Regions from separate parts of the Homo sapiens genome. Here region 2 is linked to region 1. The links are contacts of gene promoters, found by promoter capture Hi-C in human tissues and cell types (Jung and others, 2019). All regions are on one chromosome and are shown on one strand. Each heading gives the region's core, a stretch centred on a gene start or on the middle of the fragment in contact. The rest is flanking DNA. Distances are from core to core; before and after follow the strand shown.

Evidence for each region. The method cuts DNA at HindIII sites, captures the fragments that hold promoters and counts their contacts. A contact is called where the count stands out against the background at its distance.
Region 2: a fragment that was not itself captured here is called in contact with the fragment with the promoter of TPGS2 in region 1 in 1 of the 25 tissues and cell types used here (IMR-90 fibroblasts).

The regions. Positions count from the first base shown.
Region 1 is chr18:36,826,435-36,832,990 of GRCh38, forward strand. TPGS2 (tubulin polyglutamylase complex subunit 2) reads right to left here and starts at 2,568. Exons shown (of 7, transcript NM_015476.4): 1 at 2,249-2,568. The coding sequence starts at 2,333. KIAA1328 reads left to right here and starts at 2,693. Exons shown (of 10, transcript NM_020776.3): 1 at 2,693-2,762. The coding sequence starts at 2,705. RefSeq lists enhancers at 1,928-2,037, 2,138-2,930 and a silencer at 2,328-2,927. The HindIII fragment of the contact is 11,405 bases long and covers 1-6,556 here.
Region 2 is chr18:36,288,441-36,294,996 of GRCh38, forward strand. No RefSeq gene overlaps it. Among named protein-coding and RNA genes, the nearest start is that of FHOD3, 6.0 kb to the right of the region's middle. The HindIII fragment of the contact is 4,811 bases long and covers 1,116-5,926 here.

The DNA.
Region 1 (6,556 bases), core at 1,318-3,817:
TGTGTGTGGATTCCTTAGGATTTTTTATATACAAGATCATGTCATCTGCAAACAGATAGCTTACCTTCTTCCTTTTCAATTGGATGTCTTTATTTCATTTTCTTGCCTAATTGCCCTAGCTAGAAACTCCAGTACAATGTTGAAGAGAAGTGATAAAAGTGGAATTCTTGCCATGCAGAAAAGAGTGAACATAGCAGGCCCGAGACAATAATCCTCAGAAAGGTCTGCCAATCGGGCTGCCAAAATCCTTTTGTTGTAATGAATCATAGCCATGAGTAGGACTATCTCCTGAGTCCTGTAATCCTTGCGTCAAATCATTGAATCTGGTGTGATCTTGGGGAACCCTAATACAATTTTTGTTCCTGATTTTAAGGGGAAAGCTGCCAGTCTTTCACCATTACATATGATGTTAGATGTGGGTTTTTCATAGATGTCCTTCATCAGGTTGAGGAAATTCTATCTCTATCCCATCCTATTTCTAGTTTGTTGAGTTTTTTTTAATCAAGAAAGGTTAGATTTTGTCAAATGCTTTTTTTATTAAGATGATTATGCAGTTTTTGTCTTATTCTATTAGTAAGTTGTATTATATTAATTGATTTTTTTTAAGTTTCTTTTTTTTTAGTGACAGGGTCTTGCTATGTTGTCCAGCTGGACTTGAACTGGGCTCTAATAACCCTCCCACCACAGCCTCCCCAGTAGCTGGAACTAAAGACATGGGCCACCATGCCCAGCTATTAATTGATTTTCATATGTTAAAACCACTCATTCCTAAATCACACTTGGTCTTGGACTTCTATTAAAAGAGACACAAATTTTAAAAATCAACCAAACAAATACATAATTTCAAGTAGTGAAAGTGCTATAAGAATAAAAGAAAAAGCAGGGTAAGGAAAGAGAGAGCAAGAAAGACGGCGGTTATTCGAACTATATTCAGGGAAGGTTTCTCTGAAATAATGACATTTGATCAGAGATCTGAATGACCTGAAGAAGCGAGACATTCAGAGAAAGATAATTCCAGGTGCAAGGACTAGCAAACTGCAAAAGCCCTGAAGCAGGAACCCGCTTAGTGTGTTTAAGGTACAGCTAGAAGGCCATGTGGGCAAGAGTGGAAACAAAGTCAGAAAGAGATGAGAGCAGATCTTACAGGGACTTGTGGGTCATGGTACAGACATTTGGATTTTATTATAATTGTGATGGGAAGGCACTGAAGCATGCTTTTCAGCCTTCTTAAAAGACCTTTCTCCTCCTTAGTTTTCTGGCTAACTCCTATATGTCTTTCAAAATCTAGCATCATCTCCTCTGTGACATGTTCTTTAACTTCCCTGGTAAGATCAGTCCCCTCCTCTGTGACATCTCTGAGTAACAGATTACTGACCTCTTTTCACACTCCTAGTGACCTCATTTGTTTATTTTTTTCACAGAACTGTGTCTTTTTCATATTTTTAACCTCACGTCTAACATAGTGGTGAGTACTAAAGAAACGTTTGATAGGCCAGGCGCGGTGGCTCACGCCTGTAATTCCAGCACTTTGGGAGGTCGAGGCGGGTGGATCACCTGAGGTCAGGAGTTCGAGACCAGCCTGGCCAACATGGTGGAACCCTGTCTCTACTAAAAATACAAAAAAATAGCTGGGCGAGGCAGGAGAATTGCTTGAACCCAGGAGGCGCAGGTTGCAGTGAGCCGAGATCGCGCCATTGCACTCCAGCCTGGGCAACAAGAGCAAAACTCTGTCTCAAAATACAAACAAGCAAGCAAACAAAGAAATGTTCGATAAAAGAAAAACTCTGAGTCATTCAGTGGTGCAAGGTTGGATTCCTTTCAGACCCGACGTAGTTGTCGCCCTGGGAGGTCGGGTGCATTACTTCCCCCAGAGAAAGGTCTTGGGTTTCGGGGATAATGCCCTGGCTGAGAATGCCTCCTAGGGGGAGATCCAACTTCCCAACCGTCAGGTGCTTGCTGTGTTCCCTTTGCACGTCTCTGCCCGTCCTTCCTGGGTGGGACCTTGGTTGGCGGTGAGTGGGGGAAACTTCAGGCTTCCCAGCTCTGCCTCCGAACACTCCTGGCAAACACTTTCAAGGCCTAATCACAAACCCAGGTCCCCCACTTTCCTCTGTAACAACGGAAGTCCCAGCAGCGATGTCCACTCCTGTTCTGGGGCCAGCGTCGCACCGCTCACCCCGCACCTCATCCCTCCGCTCCTCCTTCCTTCTCCTCCACACCCTCTCGGCACCGTGCCCCCTTTCCTCACCTAGGATGCGCGTGATGCCCAGGGTCAGCTTCTCCAGGTGCGGCTTGCTGCAGCCCAGCCCCGGGGACGATGCCTCCTCCTCCATGGCTCGCGACCGCGATTCGCGCGCGGCGGGAGCGGGTGGAGGGCCGGACCCCGCCTCAGCGCCGAGGCCAATTTCATGGCATGCCGGGAACGGTAGTTCTCGGCGCCTGAAAGCGCGGCGCAGTGATGATGGGGGCCCGGGGTTGGTCTGACAGCAGCAGCTCCGTGGGGCGCCGGTTCCCGCGGCCCCGCCCGGTGCCCCACACCGCACCTCCGGGACGTAGCTTCCCCTTCGCCCCCACCCTCTCGCCCCGCAGGGGCCGGCCGCGCAGGCGGGGGCGGGCCTCTGCGTGGTGCGGCCAATGGGGACCGAGCCTGCAGGCCGAGGCGTGGCGGCCCAGGCGCGACGCCCCGAGTGGCGGTTGTTTCAAGATGGCGGACGTGGCGGGCCCCTCCCGCCCCAGTGCCGCGGCGTTCTGGAGCCGGGACTGTATCCTTTGCCCGCCTGACAGGGGGCGCCGGCGCCCTCCACGGGACGGCGAGGGGCGAGCCGTCGCGTGGCAGTCCGAGAGCGGAGGAGAAGCTCCGAACTAACCCCGGGGATGGGGACGTGCTGCTCGGCCCCAGTCTAGGTGCTGGGCTCTCCCCTTGCTTGGGTGTTAGGTGGCCGAGAGACTGGTACTGTCTGCAGGTGTGGGGACACGGCTCAGATGCTTCCCAGCGCTCACTACCGGTGAGCTCGAGAAAGATAGCCTTGAGTCCAGGCTCAGTCCAGGGCTGAGATGGCCCTCCGAGGTCCCTCTGCCCACCCTGTCAGAGTGCCCCCAGGCTGACTTGAGTGTGCGGAGCTAGCTCGAAGTTGAGGGAGGAGTCGGTGTTGGCTGGACAGGGAGCCTTTTTGTTTTGATTTAGGATTGTCTTTAGTCTGCATTGCTAGGAGCAAGTCAGGACCTTTCGGACTTAAAAGGCCCTCCAGTGATGATGTATTTTAATACTGGGGTTTTAGGAGAGGTGTGGAGCTTGGTTACTGGGATGTGGTCTGGTGGTGCTGGTTACTGCGTAAGATGGGAATCATTGTGCCTGGAAGTATTGTTGACTTACTTGTGGAGTGCGGGTCACTGGCAGTCATTGAAGTTCTTGGATCGTTGTGAGGTGGAGAAGCAGTGGAACTTTTTAGTCCAGTGGTAGTATTACCAGTTCAGCAGCAGTGATGAGATGTTTGTGTGACAGGAGTGTTTCTTTCCTTGGAGTAGGTAGACTCTTCTCGCTTGAGCTTTGGTCCTGATAATTTACTTCACGTTCCTTAGAGGGGTTACTTGAAAGAGGGACGGCAATCTGTGTTACTGAGTGCTTGCAGAGGCAGCTCTTTTTGTGTTTGCTAGGATTGGTGATGGCATTAATTGAGGCGTTGCTGTTACCTTTGGCAGAATCACTGGGCATTCTTCTTAGCTCCCAGTGAAACTTACAAAACTGTGTTATCAACTCCTTTGTTGAGTTACTAGGATTAGTGTCATGTGTAGAGAGAGGGATATGTTTGTATTCTGTGCTGCTCGTGTTTAGTGTTTGCACTTACTAGACATAATTACCATTTGTCTCTGATAGGTTGGTGAAAAGCAAATGAAATCATGTACATACACTGTGGATGAAAGCATACTAGTGCAGTGTGCAAATTAAATATTTTTTCCTTTACCTTTCAGAAGAGAATATGTGCACTGTGGACAACTGGGCTGAATTAGGAAGTTAGGAAATTGGGATAAGTCTTTTCTCAAGAAACACTGCTTCTGCATTGACATAATTTTGTGATGGAGGAGATACTTGAAGGTTATTAGCTTATAGCATCCTATGGTACTGTTCAAATATAGAATCAATGGTTTGGGGGGGGGACAAGCTATTGCAATGGGACTGAATAAGTGTATTAATAGATATATGGACTGAACCTAAGCTCTTGGTCTTCGCACCCAGTACTTTCACTTACTCATGTAGTTATATCACCCCCTATTTTATGTAGAAGTCATATATACTCCGTTATCTCTTGTATTCTGACTCCCAACATTTAATGTAAAATATTCGTCCTCTCATAGATAGTGAGGAATTGAAATTGTACAGGGGAAAAATGGTGGCGATTATATCCTATAAGATCTAATTCAGATGTATGAAAGGAATTGCAAAGTTGCTAGTGTCACCTTTCCCCTCAGACTATTCCACGTAATGACCAGTTAACATCGAGCCTCAGATATTTTCATTTTAAATCTCCATAGAGAATGTCACTGTAAGCAATGTCAAATGTAAATTTGTTACTGAATATTTGCTGAAAAGCATAATGATAGTTATTAATCATTTGATTTAGTTACATGTCTTTGCATCTTGATTCCTTTGTCATATTGATTATTTCCCAGACCACCCTAGAGCCTTTATAGTAGAATTTTCAATAGAAAAAGACCAAAAAGTAAGTACCTATAATCTGGTATTCTTTTCACACTATTGAAAAAAGATTTTCAATACTTCACCTAAACATTTAGAGAAATGTGATGGAGAGATTTCTTAGTCCTTGATGTTTCCATCATGAGAGGACAGATCATCTGTGACTCAATGGCACCTTTTTTTTTTATTGTTGTTGTTGTGAGTTATACATCTCCTGCACAGTATGATTCAGCAGTGCTGTTTTGCACAAGGAACGTTTTAGTACCTCATCTGTAAACAATGAGTGTGTGGTGTTGTCATGTTATGGGTTAAATCTTCCAGCAAAATATGCTCCTTCAGTTTAAGTTGCCTTTGTCCTTCATTACAGTTCCTAGTAATGTCAGAATGAGTTAGTGTTTCAGCAGTACCTAAATTTGACTGCTTAAATGCACTCAAGTGTATTACCATTAGCAATATCATGGACTTGATATTAAAAAATATGAACTGCAAGTGACCTGGTCAAAACATTGCAGTATAATCTCTGCTGTTGAGTTTTCAAATGGAAACAAAGACTGTATGTTGTGGTAAAAATAATATATTAGCCCAGAAAGTCTCTGTGGTTGATAATAATTACATATACATGTATTGCTGGCAAAACTCAGCAGATTAGAGTAGAATGGGCAGTACTGAACTTATTTCCTTCAAATCCTGGAGGTCTGGGATAGAGGTGCATCTTCCTCTCTACCACTTCTGCCTGGGTTTCTAATTACAGTTAGCCCTCTGTATCTGCTGATTCATTCAAATGTGGATGGAAAATATTTGAGAAAAAAAAGAAATAGCACACAAAAAAATACAAATTAAACTGTACAATTTAACTACTATTTATATAGCATGTACATTGTTTTAGGTATTATAAATAATCTAGAAATGACCCACTAGTAGGCCCACTATACATTTGGTATATAATGTGTCTGTTTGACTTCCCCATAAAATATACATTTGTTGGGAAATTCTAGATTTGAAGGAGGTAAATATTTGGGTTCTTAATATAATGAGATGAAAATACATTACAAATTATTAGAAAGGATAGAGGCAATTTCAAATATTGTTATTAAAAATATTGAAGTAGTTTGTTTAGAGTTTTATATATTTGAAAATAAATTTGTCATGGATGTAGCTGAAAGTAAAAGGTTTTGTTGGCCGCTTGCGGTGGCTCACACCTGTAATCCCAGCATTTTGGGAGGCCAAAGCAGGTGGATCACAAGGTCAGGAGTTCAAAACCAGTCTGGCCAACATGATGAAACGGCCGTCTCTACTAAAACTACAAAAAAAATTAGCCAGGTGTGGCGGCGGGCACCTGTAATCCCAGCTACTCGGGAGGCTGAGGCAGAGAATTGCTTGACCTAGGAGGTGGAGGTTGCAGTGAGCTGAGATCAAACCGCTGCACTCCAGCCTGGGTGGCAGAGCGAGACTCTGTCTCAAAAAAAAAAAAAAAAAAAAGTTTTGTTTGCATATTTAGAATCACAGAAATATAACATATAAGGTTGTTGGACAACACCTCATAAAATTAAATCAATACCAATTTTATTCTTTCATAGATGGAGCCAGACATTCTTTTATGTTTGAGGGTACAACACTGAACAAAATAAAACAAAAATCATTACCCTCTTGGTGCCTACATTTTAGTGAGATGAGATCAGGTCATGAATAAGGAAAATATATGTTCAATGATTTTTTTTTTTTTTTTTGAGTCAGAGTCTCGGTCTGTTGCCCAGGCTGGAGTGCAGTGGTGCCATCTCAGCTCACTGCAAGCTCCGCCTTCTGGGTTCACACCATTCTCCTGCCTCAACCTCTGGAGTAGCTGGGACTACAGGCACCCGCCAC
Region 2 (6,556 bases), core at 2,271-4,770, 540 kb before region 1:
GCCTCGGCATCCCAAAGTGCTGGGATTACAGAAGTGGGCCACATTGCCCAGCCTCCCAGTTGGCTTTCAATGTGATGAACAGCCAAGGATCATGCCATTTGAGGAAAGTGTCTACTATAAAAGAAAAAAACTGAAAGAAAAAGAAGAAAGGAAGAACCCAAAGTGTACAGAAACAGTGCAGCAAAAAGAAGAAAACTTTAAAGAAAATGTGGTTAATAATATCAGGGAAATCCTGGAAATAAGAACAAGATATTTTAAAAAGAAAAATCACAGAACAAGACAGAATTCTTGAAAAGTAAAAACATGAATGCTGCAATACAACATTCAGTAGAAGAAAAGGAAATACAGTTTAGGAAATTTCCCAAAAAGTAGAAGAAAATAATCAGAGAGATGAACAGGGCAGAAAAGTTAAGAAAATTAGAGAACCTGCTTAGTGATCCAACATCTGAATAATAGGAGTTCTAGGAAGAGCAAGCAGAGAACACTGTGGAGAGGAAATGATCAAAAACAGGATATAAGAACATTTCTGCATCAAAGAGCAGGATCTCTGGATTAAGTAATATCCACAAAATGACAACAGGATGAATGAAAAAGAATCCCCACCAGGGCACCTCATCATGGAATTTCAGTATATTGGGAATAATGAGAAGGTTCAAAAAGCTTCCAAAGAGAGAGGGGAAAAAAGTTACCTATACAATGTAGAGTTACCTATACAGTTGCCCCTTGATATTCATGGTTGTTTGGTTCCAGGACCTCCCTTGGATACCAAAATCCGTGGGTGCTCAAGTCCTTCACATAAAATGGTGTAGTATTTAACATAACCTATGCATATCCTCCTGTATACTTTAAATCATCTGTAGATTACTTATAATATCTAATATCATGTAAATGTTATGTAAATAGCTGTTGTGTTGTTTAGGAAATAATGACAAATAAAAAAAGTCTGTACATGTTTAGTATAGATGCAAGCATTCATTCTTTTTTTGAATATTTCCAATCTGTGTAGGTTGACTCCATGGATGCAGAGCCCACAGACACAGAGGGCCAGCTATACCACAGCACAAATAGTCTAAAGCAACAAGAAAAATTAGAAGACAATGAAGCAATGCCTCAAAATTCTGAGTAAAAATCATTTTAACCTAGAATTGTATAACATATGTGTTATATTGTTTCAGAGATGACTACAACATTTCTTCATATCTGGGTACGTGTACCTCTTTGCAATGTGATTTCACTTCTCCCATCAGGGAGTGGAATCTATTTCCCCACTTCTTGAATCTAAGCTGATCTTAACTTATTTCAACCAAAAAAAAAAAAAGAGTAGCAAAACTGATACAGCATAATTTCTAAGCCCAGGTCTCAAGAGATCTTGCAGCTTCCACTGTTGACCTCTTAGAATGCTATCCTAAGTCTACCAGTGTAAAGAAGCCAGGTCTAGCCTATTAGATGAGAAACCCAAGGAGAGATGAACCATTCTAACTGAAGCCCCCATCTGGACCAGCCAGCTGACAGCCAGCGTACATTACCAGGCATGGAAGGAGGCTATTTTAGTCCCACCAGTCCCAGTCAAGCTTCTAGATGACTGCAACTACATGAACGATCTCAGGTGAGACCAGATCAAATTGCTGATCCACAGAATCAAAAGAAAATAAAATGGTTGTTATTTTAAGCTACTACATTTTGGAGTGGTTTCTTATACAACAAAGACTAAATAAAACAGGAATTGGTACCTAGAAGTAGAGTGCTACCATAACAAACCCCTAAATTGTGTGACAGTGGTTTTAGGACTGGGCAGGGGGCAGAGGCTGGGAAAGTGGTGAGGAAACCATTATTTGAATCTGCATGCAGATGAGGACTTTCTCCTCGGGTACAACTGCTCTGATGCAGAGACCTGTTACCGTAAAAGACAAAGTGTATAGCCCTTTCACACTCAATATGCAATGGTGAAATTGGGACAGAATAACTTCAAGAGGCACTCACATTTAAAAATAGACAGACTGGGGCCAGGTGTGGTGGCTTACACCTGTGATTCTAGCACTTTGGGAGGCTGAGGTGGGTGGGTTGTTTGAGCCCGGGAGTTAGAGACCAGCCTGGCCAACTGGTGAAACCCCGCCTCTACTAAAAACACAAAAATTAGATAGGTGAAGTGGTGTGCACTTGTAATCCCAACTACTTGGGAGGCTGAGGCACGAGAATCTCCAGGAGGTGAAGGTTGCTGTGAGCCAAGATCACGCCACTGCACTCCAGCCTGGGTGACAGAGTGAGACCCATCTCAATAATAATAATAATAAAATAAAAAATAGACAGATTGGAAGACACACAGCAGTCATTGATTCATAGCAATGCTGAACTCCAGCCAGACACATGTTGCCAGTTTCTCTTACTCCAGGAGACTACGGCCCAGTTCTGCTTCCTGGGATGGTTTCCAAGTTTTTTGTTCCCCACGATCCTTAGTTCCCATGCTCTGATAGAACCTTCCTTTTCCAAAGGTAATGGCTGCCGTGTTTGCAGCAGAGAAACTTTCTTACTTTAGTTTTTTTTTTTTAATTAATTTTAGTTTTTTTTTTTTTTTTTTTGAGACGGAGTCTCGTTCTGTTGCCCAGGCTGGAGTGCAGTGGCATGATCTCGGCTGACTGCAAGCTCCACCTCCTGGGTTCACGCCATTCTCCTGCCTCAGCCTCCCTAGTAGCTGGGACTACAGGCGTCTGCCACCACGCCCGGCTAATTTTTTGTATTTTTAGTAGAGACGGGGTTTCACCGTGTTAGCCAGGATGGTCTTGATCTCCTGACCTGGAGATCCACCTGCCTCAGCCTCCCAAAGTGCTGGGATTACAGGTGTAAGCCACCACGCCTGGTCTTTAGTTTTATTTTATTATTAATTCAGGTACAGTTTTGTTATGTGGGTATATTGCATAATGTTGAGGTTTGGGATTCTAGTGAAACCATCACCCAAACAGTGAATACAGTATTGAGATGGTATTCAGTAAACAAAATAGGTAGCTTTTCAACCTTTGCCTCCTTCCTCTTCCCCTTTTAGAGTCCCTAGTGCCTATTATTTCCATCTTTATGTCCATGAGTGCCCACTGTTTAGCTCTCACAAGTGAGAATATGTGGTATCTGATTTTCTTTTTCTGGGTTATTTCACTTAGGATAATGGCCTCTAGCTCAATCCAAGTTGCTGCAAAGGACATGATTTCATTCTTCTTTATGTTTGTCTGCTTCTTATCCATTTCAGGTTGGAGTTCCATAAGTTTCTTTTTATTTTGAACAATCTCAGTCCCTTTTAGCCTAAGCTGACAGTGCTTTCATAAATACAACTATCTGAAAAATGTTGTGGATTTTCTATCAGTCTTACTAGGGTTTACTCCATGTGCCAAACACTATACACATAATCCTTCCTCCTCTGGGCATGTCATGCTGCTGTGGAACAACACCCTTAAGATTCTTAGAAGCTCTTTTGTATAAATGAGAAGATCTGCTAGGCACTACCTTAAATCTCTCTGAGACTGTAACAAAGTGTCTTACAACTGAATTTCAACATTTTTTTTTCATAGCTATGGGGTCTTGCTCTGTCTCTCAGGCTGGAGTGCAGTGGTATGATCATAGCCCACTATAACCTTGAACTCCTGGGCTCAAGCAATCCTCCTGCCTCAAAAATGTGGTTGAATTTCCCACACTGGGAATTCCCCACACTGGGAATTACAGGTGTGAGCCACTGCGTCTGGCCTACAACCACATTTTTAAACTGATCTTTACCAAGATTATTTCTTACTGTGAAGGTCTTTTACTAACTGGAGAAACTGGGGGTGAGAAATTGTTTATTTTATAACCCAGCAAATTTTAACTACTCACTCTGTTTGCAAACAGAATTCATTGTAATATGCAGCTACAGGTACCCAACAGATACTTCCAACATACTGACTAAAGATCTCCTTAGCCAAGTTTATAAACTCATTAGTTACATTTTCTATCTTCCAAATTACTCTAGGCAATTGTCCTGTCAATTGTTTAATTGCTGCATAACTCAGGTAACCATTTTTTTTCCAGTCTTCAGTAGCAATTTCTTTACCAGGTTTCCTAGGCTAGATCTGGCCTCTTCACATGGTAGTCCCAGGCCAATATTCCAAGAGTGTGAAAGGAGATGCCGTAATGTCTCTTGAGGCCTAGTTTCAGAAGTCACACAATGCCACTTCCACCATATTCTATTGGTCAAAGCAAGTCACAAAGCCTCCCGAACTCAAGGAGTGGAGAGATAGACTTCACTTTGTGACAGGAGAAGTGGCAAAGTCATATTGGAAAATGGCGGGAATACAAGGGGTGGGAGGAATTATTGTAGCCATCTTTGCCAACAAAACTGCCACACCAAGACAAGTGCTAGGACAATGATTTAAGATTGTTTGAGACATAAAATTTTTCAAAACTTCATCCTTTCTCAGAAAGCTACTGTAGTATGTACTAACAAAAAATGCGAGTGTAAACTAAGAAATAATAAGATAAGTGAGCTGGGAACCAGGGGCACCTGCAGAAGAGAAAAGTCAAGAAAATATCCAGGAGGATAGGGCTGAGGGAGCCACATTTCAAATTGGAGCAGGAGGATGGAATAGAACTGAAAGCTTATTTGACAATATTGAGAGAGGCATTTGTAGGACTGTTGCAGGATATGAGATGATTTAGCCAGCTGTTCAAGAAAAAATAATAATCAAATGAAAAAAATTGAGGCAAACATTAACTTGAGGAAAAACAAAAAGTTGTACAAGAAAGGGCATGTAATCCTGTACACAACTTGGCACAGACAGGAACAATATTAACATCATAAATTTTAAAATCACTGCATAAGAATTTGACTAACATTGTGACAGAACAATATTGGAAAAGGAAATGGACTATAAAGAAGCTAAAACCCTCCGCATGACAGAAGGTCAGTGTATTATCTAAAATTGATAGCTCAAAGTACAGCAGTGTACTCACACTATTTAGAAACGAGTGGCTCTGGAAAGTGTGTATGTTAAGAAGGGGTGTTGTAAACTAGGGTCAGATGTCTGTTTCTGATATCTTGTTATAACTTTTTATTACTCTTGGCCTTTTAAATTAAGATAAATCATTACATTACTAAAAAGAAATAATTTAAAAATTAGGCTGAGAAAAAAATTGGCTGTTAGAGGAAAAAATATTAGTAATTAGTAAATTTTTGCCAAGGCAAAAATCCTTAAAAGAATTAAGGATAGCCTATATAATTAAAAAGTCTGAAGGTTTCATTTTAGGTGCCAGTCACTGAAGTTTTCAGATTAAAATTTAATAAGGCAAATTCCAATCCTGAAAATCTTATAGTTAGTGGAGTAGGCATATACAAGCATACATTTACAATGTAACATGAAAAGTGCTACAGTAAGGGCATATGTAATTTGAGACCACAGAAGAAAGACAGACAATCCTTGTTTGGGGTAGAGTTGGAGATGTCTCTCCAGAAGAGTTGACATTAGAAATGAGAATTGAAGGATAAGTGGGTTCAGCTGACTGACTAGATAGGCAAGAGCATTCTAGGTTTAGATGCTCACCATGAGAAAGCTCAGCATGTCTGGGAAAGAGTAATAAGTTTGGCATGGCTTGAAAGCAGGCTGTGAAGCTGGGAATGACCAACCATATGCCTGGAGTGGTAGACTGAGGCAGGTCTTAGAGGGCTTTGTGAGTTGTGCTAAGGGGTTTGGAATGTAAGGATTTTACCCTGTGGTGTAATATGTCAAACACACATCTTAGAATGATCACTGGCTCTGGGGAAGCCAGTGGAAGACCAAATGCAGGATGCAAGTCTGGGGAAGTCATTAGAAGACTAGCATAGAAAGTGAGGGCTAGAGAGAAGGGAAGAATTGAGAAATATTTTAGAGGCTGATTCAGTAACAAGTCATAGTGACCAACGCAAGATGCAGGAGTCAAAGATGACTTTGATGTTGATACATTCATTAGACATTTATTGTGTGTCTTCTCTGTGGTAGGCGTAGAGTTGAATATGGCATGGTTGTTGCCCAGAGGAGCTTTTTCTTTAGTGACAACACAGACAATAAATTAACAGTAACCATAGCTCTGGTGTTCTATGCTCCAAGGGCTTGGAGAGCATTGGAATCAGCAGACAGGCAGGTAAAGCAGTCTGGCAGACGGCAACCTTGTGGAAGAGTTTCTGGATGGGCAGCCAGGTTGGGGTGTTGGGTTGAATGTGTAATTGAGTATGATGTGGTAACCAGGATAGGGATGTTTAGTTGCCCAGTGAAAATCAGAGCCTAGAAGGGAGGAGAGGGACTCCTCTGTGAGTATAGAGTTGGATGCATGCAGGTTGAGGACGGTTGAAGCCAGGAAAATCTAGAGGAAATGTGAACAGGACCAAGAGGAGGATGAAGCCCAGAAAGACTTGAGAAGGAGCTGTCAAAGGAGGAGGAGAACCTACAGTGGGTAGAGCTATTGAGCTGAGGGGGTAAGAGTCTGAGAAAAGAATCTTCCATGGTGCCATGGTGACAGATGCTGCCAAGAAAGTGGGTAGCAGGGCCAAGGTGTCCTCCAGGTAAGA